3 separate regions of the Homo sapiens genome follow, and regions 1 and 2 are each linked to region 3. Evidence: promoter capture Hi-C in 16 types of primary human blood cells and fetal thymus (Javierre and others, 2016). All regions are on one chromosome and are shown on one strand. Each heading gives the region's core, a stretch centred on a gene start or on the middle of the fragment in contact. The rest is flanking DNA. Distances are from core to core; before and after follow the strand shown. Region 1 overlaps INTS6 (integrator complex subunit 6). Region 2 overlaps INTS6 (integrator complex subunit 6). Region 3 holds the start of CKAP2 (cytoskeleton associated protein 2).

Region 1 (3,415 bases), core at 537-3,036, 1.0 Mb after region 3:
TTCCTATAGAGCATTAATTTAATGGTGGTATAATTTAAATGAGAAGGAATATCCCCAAACCCAGATTTTATTTTCTTTTAAAACATTTGCAAAATATTTCTTCAGAATTTTATACTCTAAAACTGTTTTCTAAAAGAAAAAATTCTCCAGTCATGATCTGAAAAAAAAAAAAAAAAGAAAAATGAAAAACACTATCCTAAGGATGTTATTGCATTCTTTTTTTTTTTGGGATAGAGTTTCACTCTTGTTGCCCAGGCTGGAGTGCAATGGCGTGATCTTGGCTCACTGCAACCTCTGCCTCCCGGGTTCAAGCCATTCTCCTGCTTCAGCCTCCTGAGTAGCTGGGATTACAGGCTCCCGCCACCACCCTCGGCTAATTTTTGTATTTTTGGTAGAGACGGGGTTTCGCCATGTTGGCCAGGCTGGTCTGAAACTCCTGACCTCAGGTGATCCGCCCACCTCGGCCTCCCAAAGTGCTGGGATTTACAGGCGTGAGCCACCGCCCCTGGCCATTATTGCATTCTTAATTAGAAATTGTTCAAAACAAATCTTAAATACAAAAGTCAAAAATAGGCCGGGTGCCATGGCTCACACCTGTAATCCCAACACTTTGGGAGGCTAAAGCAGGTGGATCACTTGAGGTCAGGAGTTTGAGACCAGCCTAGACAATGTGGTGAAACCCCATCTCTACTAAAAAAAAAAAAAAAAAAAAAAAAAAAAAAAATTAGCTGGGGGGTGGTGGCATGTGCCTGTAGTCCTAGCTACTCAGGACTCCTGGAGTCCTGGTTGGAGGATTGCTTGAACCCCGGAGGTGGAGGTTGCAGTGAGCTGAGATGGTGCCACTGCACTCCAACTTGGGCAATAGGCTGTCTCAAAAAAACAAAACAAAACAAAAACAAACAAAAAACCAAATAATATATTCTACTTTAAAGAGCATTTTACTTTCTTTCGATATAGGAGAATATCGATAATTATGTATTATATACAGCTGGAAATTAAAAGATCAGGAACAAATCTAATATTTGACATCATTGGACTTATTTGTGTATTTTGAATTAAGGTCATTTGTGGTCAAAATTAGTTAAAAGGATTGTTTATTTAGTCATGTTCATGTCATAGATTTCTACAAAGAGATTATATAGTATTTTATAGCTTGAAATGTTTCTCAAATATATAAAATGATTTTTGGCCATAATAACCTTGACTCAGATTTATACTCTACAATTAAATTAGTCTTGGTGGACTTTTCTTGTTTTTTGGGGCTTTTTAATTTTAAAAATGTTTAGATACAAAGTCTCTCTGTGTTACCCAGGCTGGTCTTGAACTCCTGGGCTCAAGCAGTCTTTCCACCACGCCTTCGGAGTAGCTGGGACTGCAGGCTCTTGCCATTGTACTCAGCTTAAAAAAGTAATTTCCTTATATAAACTTTATTTTTGTTTAGTCTTACTATTAGTCTATAAAAGTTTACCATGGTTGCCAGACTTTAAACAAAATACTAAATTTTTAAAAAATTTTGTTTTGGTTTGTATTTTCTGATCTCTAACATTTTTATTGAGATGTAACTTAAATAAACAAATCTGAAGTGTGAAGCTTAGTGAATTTTAAAATATACACTCTTAAAAAAATTGAACATTTGCATCTACTGACAAGTTTTCATTAAACTTTCTGTGTTTTATTATTATTTTCATAGGGCTTTAGAATGGAAGTGATTTTAGAAGTTTACTCAATTTTCCTCATTTTGTAGGTGAAGAAAAGGCATAGAAAGGTTCAGAGGCTTAATTTCTTCACATTTATGAAATATTTTTAAAAATTGTAATTGGTGATAGAACAGTTATGGAGATTTTATTAAGGATTTGTATATTATTTAATAACATTTTATTTAAATGTATAAGCAGTGGATCTGAGTTGCTTTCTTCAGTTTTGTGTATAGTTCTGTAATGCAGTATGATTTCTTTCAGTTCTTGTTTGAAAGCTAAGCTTTTCATTTTGTCTCTGTTACATTTAGTCTTTCTTGTAACATTCTATCTAAATACTGTTTGTTACAAAATTAGCTTTAGTTGGATTCCTTCCTCCCTTTGTTTGGCAGAAAGTAAATGAATTTAGGGCAGCGGTCCCCAGCCTCTTTGGCACCAGGCTGGTTTTGTGGAAGACAGTTTTTCCATGGATTGGTAGAGGTGGTTGGGATGGTTTCAGATGAAACTTTTCCACCTCAGGTCATCAGGCGTTAGAGTCTCATAGGAGCGCATAACCTAGACCCCTTGCATGCACAGTTCACAACAGGGTTTGTGCTCCTATGAGAATCTAATGCTGCTGCTGATCTAACAGGAGGCGGAGCCCCAACGGTAATGCTCACTTGCCCACTGCTCACCTTCTGCTGTGCCACCCATTCCTGATGGGGTCCAGGGGTTGGGGACCCCGATCTAGGGGATAAACCAGGAAAGACTTCTTAGAGGTAGTAGCATCTGAAGAATAAAAGTTTACTGAGAACCCAGAACCCTTGCAGGTTAGGGGGCAATGCAGAGTGAAGATCATGATCAATGGCCAGATGCGATGGTTCATGCCTAGTAATCCCAGCACTTTGGGAGGCTGAGGTGGGTGGATCACCTGAGGTCAGATGTTCGAGACCAGCCTGGCCAACATGGTGAAACTAAAAATACAAAAATTAGCTGGGCATGGTGGCGGGCGCCTGTAATCCCAGCTACAGGCACCCTCAGGAAGCTGAGGCAGGAAAATCGCTTGAACCCAGGAGGCAAAGGTTGCAGTGAGCTGAGATTGCGCCATTGCACTCCAGCCTGGGCGACAAGAACGAAACTTCATCTCAAAAAAAAAAAAAAATCATGGTCAAAAACATAGGAGAGGCTGTCCCTGTGGCTCACACCTGTAATCCCAGCACTTTGGGAGGTTGAAGAGGGAGGATCACTAGAGGCCAGGAGTTCAAGACCAGCCTGGCCAACCTGGTAAAACTCCATCTCTGCCAAAAACACAAATATTAGCCAGGCATGGTGGTGCACGCCTGCAATCCCAGCTACTCAGGTGGCTGAGGCAGGAGAGTCACTTGAACCTAGGAGGTGGAGGTTGCTGTGAGCCAAGATTGTGCGACTGCACTCCAGCCTGGGTGACAGAGTGGGAATCTGTCTCAAAAAAAAAAAAAAGGCTGGAGGTGGGGAGGCCTGGGGACGTATGGGATAGTTGACAGGATTTTATACTGTAATTACTTTAAGGCCTAGATTCTAATAACATACATAAGTATTTAATGGCACTTTTTGGTTTTGTGCTTCATACTTTAAGTTTCTGATGTGTAGCTAGTTAATATAGAGCTATTAACCTTGTTCATTAGTCAATTTTTCCAATGTAGTATGCCAACCAGTATTAGGGTTACATTTATAACTTTTTTCCTGGAGAGTTGATGAGTTAA
Region 2 (3,653 bases), core at 54-2,553, 1.0 Mb after region 3:
GATAAACAAAATATGATACATCCATACAATGGAATATTATTCAGCCTTAAAAAGGAATACAATTCTCTCACATAGTGCAACATGGATGAACCTTGAAAACTAAGTGAAAGCCAGACACAAAAGGCTACTTGATGCAAATTTCCATTTATATGAAGTGTCTAGAATAGGCAAATCCATAGAAACAGAAATAAGTGGTTGCCAGAGGCTTGGGATAAGGGTAGGATGCTAATGTATATAGAAGGGTTTCATTTTCAGGTGATCAAAATGTTCTGAAAGTAGACAGTGGTGATGATTGTACAACTCTGACTTCCTGGTTCAGCCACTTTAAATAGATGAATGAAACAAATAGAAGAACTTGTATCTTTACTCTCATACACCCACACTATTTTCCTCTCTGGTGCCTATCTTCTCTATTTCCTTTTGCAACAAATTTAGAGATCATTTCTGTTATCTCCTTGACTTCTCTACCTCCTTTTAAATCTATTACAGTCTGACTTTTGATTCTACCTTTGTTAATAAGATCACTAATAATGTCCTTATCTTCCAAATCCAAATTTGCTTTTTAGTTTTTCTTTCATGATGTTTTGCCAGCACTATTGAACACTGTTTTTTAAAGCTTCTCTTGACTTCTGTGTTTACACTTTCCTGGCTCTGCTTTGGCTTTTTGTTTTGTTTTAATTTCCATCCTTGACCTTAGTGTATTTGCCTGTCCCTGAGTGTTACTGGTTTAGTTTTAGATTTTCTTACACGTTTACTGACATACTCTTGGACAATTTCATTCCCGTGGCTTTATCCGTGTTCATCTGCACAGAAGTGTGTGTATTTGGCCTAAAAGGCTTGGTGACTCAACTTACTCTCAAATAGTTTGTCAAATATTAATAATTATATATTACTCTACTACTCCATTTTCATGCTGCTGGTAAAGACATACCCGAGACTGGGCAATTAATAAAAGAAAGAGGTTTAATGGACTTAAAGTTCTACATGGCTGGGGAGGCCTCACAATCCTGGTGGAAGGCAAGGAGGAGCAAGTCATGTCTTACATGGGTGGCAGCAGGCAAAGAGAGAGAGCTTGTGCAGGGAAACTTCCTGTTTTTAAAACCATCAGATCTTGTGAGACTTATTCCCTATCATGAGAACAGCATGGCAGAGACCCATCCCCATGATTTAATTACCTCCCATGGGGGTTTCTCCCACAAAATGTGGGAATTGTGGGAGTTACAATTCAAGATGAAATTTGGATGGGGACACAGCCAAACCATATCAATCACCATTATTATTATTGTTATTATATAAAAGAGAAAGAAGTAAATGTGACAAAATGTAAACTGTCTATGAATCTAGATGAATGGGACCCTGGAGCTCATAGTACAATCACTGCAACTTTTCTGTGAGATTGAAATTTTTCAAATAGAGAGATTTTTAAAGAATTTTTTTTTTAAGTGAACGGTTCTGTGCCATTTAGTACATCCTTTCCTTTAAAAAAAAAAACTCTCATACTTGTCAGGGTATTAAGTTGCTATAACAGAATGCAGTAGTTCTTTAATTGTGAGTTTCTTATATATTCTAGGATAGGCAGATCTGTTTAGTATACCTTTTTCCACTGCATCATTTCAGTTTGGATATTCTTGACTTTCGAATTGTTCTTGGAAATAATTAGAAAGAAGTAGGGATTGGGATTGTTGGACGGTGAAATCATAGGGAGAGAAAGGAAGTTGAGGAATTCAATCTTGAGTCTTAGAACTGTGTGTGTGTGTGTGTGTGTGTGTGTGTGTGTGTGTATAGAAGAACTACATACATACATATATAGAAGGAAGAAACGGAAATGAATCTATAAAGGCCTGATAGTACTTACATATTTTCTTGTTATTGTCTGTTATGTTATGAATAGGACCTGCGGCTGTATTATATTTGAGAAATAGGATTTAAGAAATACCCACTCAGTTTCACCAAAAATGTTAAAATTTTATTTGCTTTAAAAAAAGCTTTTATTAAGCTTCTTTTCCATCTACATTATCCAAGCAAATCTGAATAATTGGGACTAGAGTTGGACTAGATGTTGGAGGGACCAACTTTCTATTTATTAAATCACGGAAAGATTTAGCATTAGTTTGATTAGAATGGGTGCTTTCCTGCCCTTAACACACATACAGTGCCTCTTTGAATGCATATTTTCTGCAACAAAGAAAAACAAATTAACAAACAACTAGTTGAACCTTCAAGGATTCTGAAAAGCTTCTGGCAAGGTATATTTTTTAGGATATTGGTTCAGCTTCTCTATTGGGACAAAAATAGCTGGTTTAAAAATACAGAAGGCTTTTCCTTTCACATCAAAGATAGAACTGGTAGTAGTCAGGGAAGTGGAGTGGTTCTGCTCTAAGCTATTGTCTAGGGTTCCAGGTTTCTTCTACTTTGTTCCTCTATCTTTGCTTTTATCTGAATGGTTGATGCTGGTTTCACAGCACATCATACAACTGGATTTCAGCCTGTGGGAAGGAGTAAAGGCACACAGCTTCCTAATATAAGCATGACCTAAAACATAAATGACGTTGCAATGAGACTCCATCAACTAGAATTTGGCCACACTTAGCTGTAAGGCAGAGTGGAAACTAATCCCTGCTTGGGTGGCTGTGAGTCCAGTTAAAATTTGGGGGGTTTAATTAGTAGAAGGAAGGAGAGACTAGATGTGGACGGGCAGTTATCAGAAATTAAAGGGGTGATAAAGTAAGCTTGAAAGCTTCTTTGCTTTCTAGTGTGACAGCTTGTTCTGAGCTTATCTTGTACATTTTTGCTTCAGACCTGAAATCAGGTCAGGTTCCATGTATTAGGACGTGGTATATGGAAACCATAGCATGGGTTTTAGAAAAGGGTGCATTGCCATTGAGTTAATCATCATTTTCAGGCTTTTTCAGTACAGAGCTAGGAAATATTTTTTTCTGAAAGAGAAAATAGGTCATGAATCCATACTACTATTTGCATTTCACTTTTAAGGTAGATATTTAAAATGTTAAAGAATGTGTTTCTGTCATAAAAACCAAAGTTTGATTCCTGGTTCTGCAACTTATTAGAGGTATAATTTTTTTGCTCATTTTGAGTTTCAGTTTTCTCATCTTTACAATGGGGATAATAACTACATCTCATGGTTGTCATATGATTAAATGAGATAAGTGCTCAGAAATTTTTACTGATTTTATTATTCTCTATCACAATACAAAAAGGAGAGACCCCTAATTCTTCTTACAGGGGTTAGAGAAGACTTAGAGACACTTGTGCCATCAGGGAAGATTGAATTTTAAATGGGATATGGAGGTTTAGTGAGAAGAAATACCCAGGTAAGGGACCCAGCAGAGGCTGTGATCTGCATTTGTCAAGGCTGGTGCATAGGATTCTATTTTGACCCTTTAAAAAAAAAACTTTTTTCTTATAGTATTTATCATAGTGTGTAATTAAGTAGTAGTTTGTGTGCTTATTTGCTTACTGTCTGACTGCCTTTCTGTCCCACAGTGACAAGGAAGGACTATCCTGTCTTTCTTTTTGATTACCATTATACCTTCAGTACCTGCCACATAATAGTCACACAGTTGCTGTTCAGACCCTGAATAAAATTTTGAAGCATTTATAAATATCACGAAATTTCGCATTTGATTATATAC
Region 3 (3,779 bases), core at 596-3,095:
TAATAGAAAGACTGACCTTTGTGTGGTGTAAACAGTAAGTTGATAATCTAGTCTATGCACATACTTTGCTTTATAATTGTTTTTTTCTCTTAGACTGTGAATTAATTTACGTAGAAAACGATAATCTAGGCCGGGCGCGGTGGCTCATCCTTGTAATCACAGCACTTTCAGAGGCTGAGGTGGGCGGATCTCAAGGTCAGGAGTCCAAGACCAGCCCGGCCAACATAGTGAAACCCGGTCTCTGTTTAAAATACAAAAATTAGCAGGGAATGGTGGCACTTGCCTGTAGTCAGTCCCAGGTATTTGGGAAGCTGAGGCAGGAGATTCACTTGAACCCAGAAGGTGGAGGCTGCAGTGAGCCAAGATCACGCTACTGCACTCCAACCTGGCAACAGAGTGAGACTCTGTCTCAAAAAAAAAAAAATTAATAAAACGATGATCTAATGCTGCACCATCCAATAAAGTAGCCACTAGCCAATGTGGCTACTGAGTGCTTGAAATGTGGATAGACCAAATGGAAATGTCCTGTAACTGTAAAATAGACACCAGATTTTAAAGACGTTGTACCACAAAAAGACGTAAAATAATATGTAAGCAGTTTTTCTAAATGTGGCTACTAGAAAATTTAAAATTACAGATATGGCTTACTTTACATTTTCATTGGACAGATCTGATACAATTTTACAGAAGTGAAAAGAAATAAACTTGACCTTACCTGGATAACATCTCATTTTCCTGCTTGTATGCAAAAAGCGTTTTTCTTCTCAACAGATGTTCCTTGAGTTTTTGTCTTCTTTGCTCTAGATAACAAAGGTAAGAGCTACAAGTCAATATTAGTTAAAACATCGATAACGGCAAATAAATCTTGTTGACTAAATGAAGAGTTTACTTCCAAAGCTGGTTCCACCTGAGGTCACATCTATATAACAGAAAATTCTCCAATTCAATATTGCCTTTGAGAAATCACCTTAGAAGAGACTGTTACCACAACAGGTCCCCAAAACCCCTCTGCATAAGAATCACATTCTCTACTCCCTGTGAAAAATCTGGAGAACATCATTTTCTACATACAGCTCCTGCTAGCCAAGCTTTAAGAAACTAAATGGTAGAAGTGAGGCACTAGACTCGAAAGTTCTAATTTACCAGAACTGGGTTAGATGAGAATTACTTTCTTCTGCTTTCCCGTGTGTAGAATAAGGGAATAACAATATTAGTTTTGAAGACCCAACCAACCCTCGGTTTCCATAAAGTCGAAGGAGAAGCTGTGAAATTGGAAATAACACATGATGCGACCCCAGCCCTGCAGAAATTCGCTAGGGACCTAAGAGGCGGAGGACCCAGCGCAGGCGCAGTCGGTCCCTGAACCTGTGCAGCCCCGCCCCCAAGCGGACCCAGGGTCTCCGACACCGACCCCGGCCTGAGGCCCGCGCGTTTCCCCTCGCCTAACGGATTCCTTCTTAGGAGGGCCCATCCCAGCCAGCAGCGACCGCACAGTAACACCACGCAGCGGTTCCTGTTTTTATGATCCGTTCCACAAGGCCAAGAATGAGGCAGGGCGAGGCCGACGCCGCGTTCAGGGATCTCACAGAGCGGGGGAGAGGTGAAGCGCGCCAGCGCGGCCCCGAGCCCCGACCGCCGGGCCCGCGCCCGCCACCGCCACCGCCACCGCCACCGCCACCGCCACCGCGGCCTTCACCTTTGAATGCGGACTGCGCCCTCTGACTCGGGGGCAGCTGCAGGTCCTGGGGCACGGCCGGTGTGCTCATCGTAGCCTCGGGTCGGGGGATGCGTCTCCGCTTTAGCGCCAAGATAGAACTTCCTCAGACCACCGCCGCCGCAGTCTGCACCGCGGCTAAGCCGTCAGACGGCGCGGCTGCCGTCTCCGCCCATTGGTTCCTGCGTGAATTGAATAAGCCAATGGGCGTAGGGAGGCGGAGCCTGGACTGCAGTTGCCGGGGCCGGTCTGGTGTCTGCCCAGTTCGGTTGGGACTGAGTCTGCAGGTTTCAAACCTAAACAGCGCTCTTCATCCTGGACGTGCGATGGGGGAGGAGTCGGCCTGCTCAGTCCCCACGACATAGCAGGACTAGGTTGACAAACAACCGAGATGGGACACATCTTGAGACCCTCACAGTCCTTGGAGGAAGGCAGACGAGAAAAAGACAAGAAAAGTGTTGATTGGCTGCCCTTCTTATTAAACATCGACGCGTTCACTGACGAGGACGTAAACACCGATCTGGCGTACCACGAGCGTGTGTATTTTCGTTTCACAAATACTGCTTCATTTTGAGCATCAATTCTGAGGTGGGACGTTATCACCACTTTTTCCACTGAGAGGTGACAGGTTCAGAGGTTGTTTGTCCACGTTTGCACAGCGTGTGAAGGGGAACTGAAATTGGGATCTACTTTCCATACCTTTATTCTAAGCAATTATCAAATGCAAAAAAGGGAGGAGAGGAGGAGAAACAGAAAAAAATGAAGATAAACCTCATCCCCTCCTCAAGGTTATATATAATTCTCCTTTGAAGATAAAATAGCATTTGTTACAGACGTTTTGTGTTTGTGTGGTTAAGTGTGCCGCCATAATCTTCGTTTTTCTCATCTAAAAATACCACCTTCATAAAACCCACACAAACACTCAATCCACATGACAGAACGAAACAAGTCAGGGCTAGAAGGTTTTAAGAGTGGCAGTGGGGAAGTGAGGGCGAGTCTGGACTGCACCTGCCTGGTTTCAAGCACTGGGTTTACATTTCTTGCCTGATCACTGCAGTAAGGCTGGACTGGACTCTTTCAGCCAGGTTTTAGGTGCTCCGGGCACACAGACGGGAGGATGTGATTTCCCCGTTTACCCTTCCCAGGTCTGAGGGCCTCCACAGCTGGCCCTCGGCTGTGGTCAGTTTTTCCCACTTCTGCCTGCTTTTTTCTTCAGACATCTTATGGTAGCGTCTTGCTAATGAGGAATTTGGTTTGAGATTTTGTGTAGTTTTTTACTTGATGAAATGTCCCAGTTTTAGTTTAACATTGTCCATCACCATCCTTAAGATATAACTTGCTGTTTAAATACGTCTGTCATTATTGTTGATTATTTACTAAAGTTTCATCAGACAGGTGGGGCAACCAGGGATTTCTATTAAGTGAGAACAAAATACAGCGTTAATAAGTGACTCAAAAACCTCCAAAACATTATGCTAAGTAAAAGAAGTAATATATGAAAAGTTACATATGGTATGATTCCATTTATATGAAAGATCTAAAATAGATACATCCATAGTGAAATAACTCAGAATAGTAGTTGCCAGAGGCTGAGGGTAGGGGGAGAATTGGGAGACAGTTTAATGGACAAGGGTTTCATTACCTTGAAGTAAGTGAAATGTTTTGGAATTAGAGGTAGTGGTTGGGTGACATTGTAAATGTATTAATGCCATTGAGTTGTTCACTTTAAAATGATTAATTTTATGTTATGTGAACCTCAATAATTTTTTATAAGTGGGCATGGTAAAAAAAGAAATTGACTCAAAGGATACCATGGAGATCTCAGTAGGCTGAGATGAATAGGAAAACCTGCCAAACTGCTAGGTTTTTCAAAATGGCAATTCTCCTCTAATCTCCAGACTCACCCACTCCAATGATATGTCTATTTTTGAGACACTTTTTAATATTACTGCTACACAATTATTGCAGAGAAAGCAGACCTTTTTCTAAAAGATCCAAAAAACAAACAAAAAAAACAAAACAAAAAAGATTTCCTTTCAGAACAGTTCTTTGCCAACACAGCTGA

The links. The method cuts DNA at HindIII sites, captures the fragments that hold promoters and counts their contacts. A CHiCAGO score of 5 or more calls a contact.
Region 1: a contact is called between a fragment that was not itself captured here and the fragment with the promoter of CKAP2 in region 3, in 1 of 17 cell types (non-activated CD4 T cells). The highest score is 5.6, in non-activated CD4 T cells.
Region 2: a fragment that was not itself captured here is called in contact with the fragment with the promoter of CKAP2 in region 3 in 1 of 17 cell types (total B cells); the score reaches 5.6 in total B cells.

What each region holds. Positions count from the first base shown.
Region 1 is chr13:51,441,562-51,444,976 of GRCh38, reverse strand. The region is part of intron 3 of INTS6 (integrator complex subunit 6); the gene reads left to right. Among named protein-coding and RNA genes, the nearest start is that of INTS6, 9.8 kb to the left of the region's middle. The HindIII fragment of the contact is 387 bases long and covers 1,593-1,979 here.
Region 2 is chr13:51,412,962-51,416,614 of GRCh38, reverse strand. All of the region lies in intron 4 of INTS6 (integrator complex subunit 6), which reads left to right. Among named protein-coding and RNA genes, the nearest start is that of INTS6, 38 kb to the left of the region's middle. The HindIII fragment of the contact is 1,369 bases long and covers 619-1,987 here.
Region 3 is chr13:52,453,544-52,457,322 of GRCh38, reverse strand. CKAP2 (cytoskeleton associated protein 2) reads right to left here and starts at 1,845. Exons shown (of 9, transcript NM_018204.5): 1 at 1,697-1,845; 2 at 716-800. The coding sequence starts at 1,766. CKAP2-DT (CKAP2 divergent transcript) reads left to right here and starts at 1,977. Exons shown (of 1, transcript NR_185890.1): 1 at 1,977-2,548. RefSeq lists enhancers at 2,145-2,224, 2,515-2,694. The HindIII fragment of the contact is 3,306 bases long and covers 1,091-3,779 here.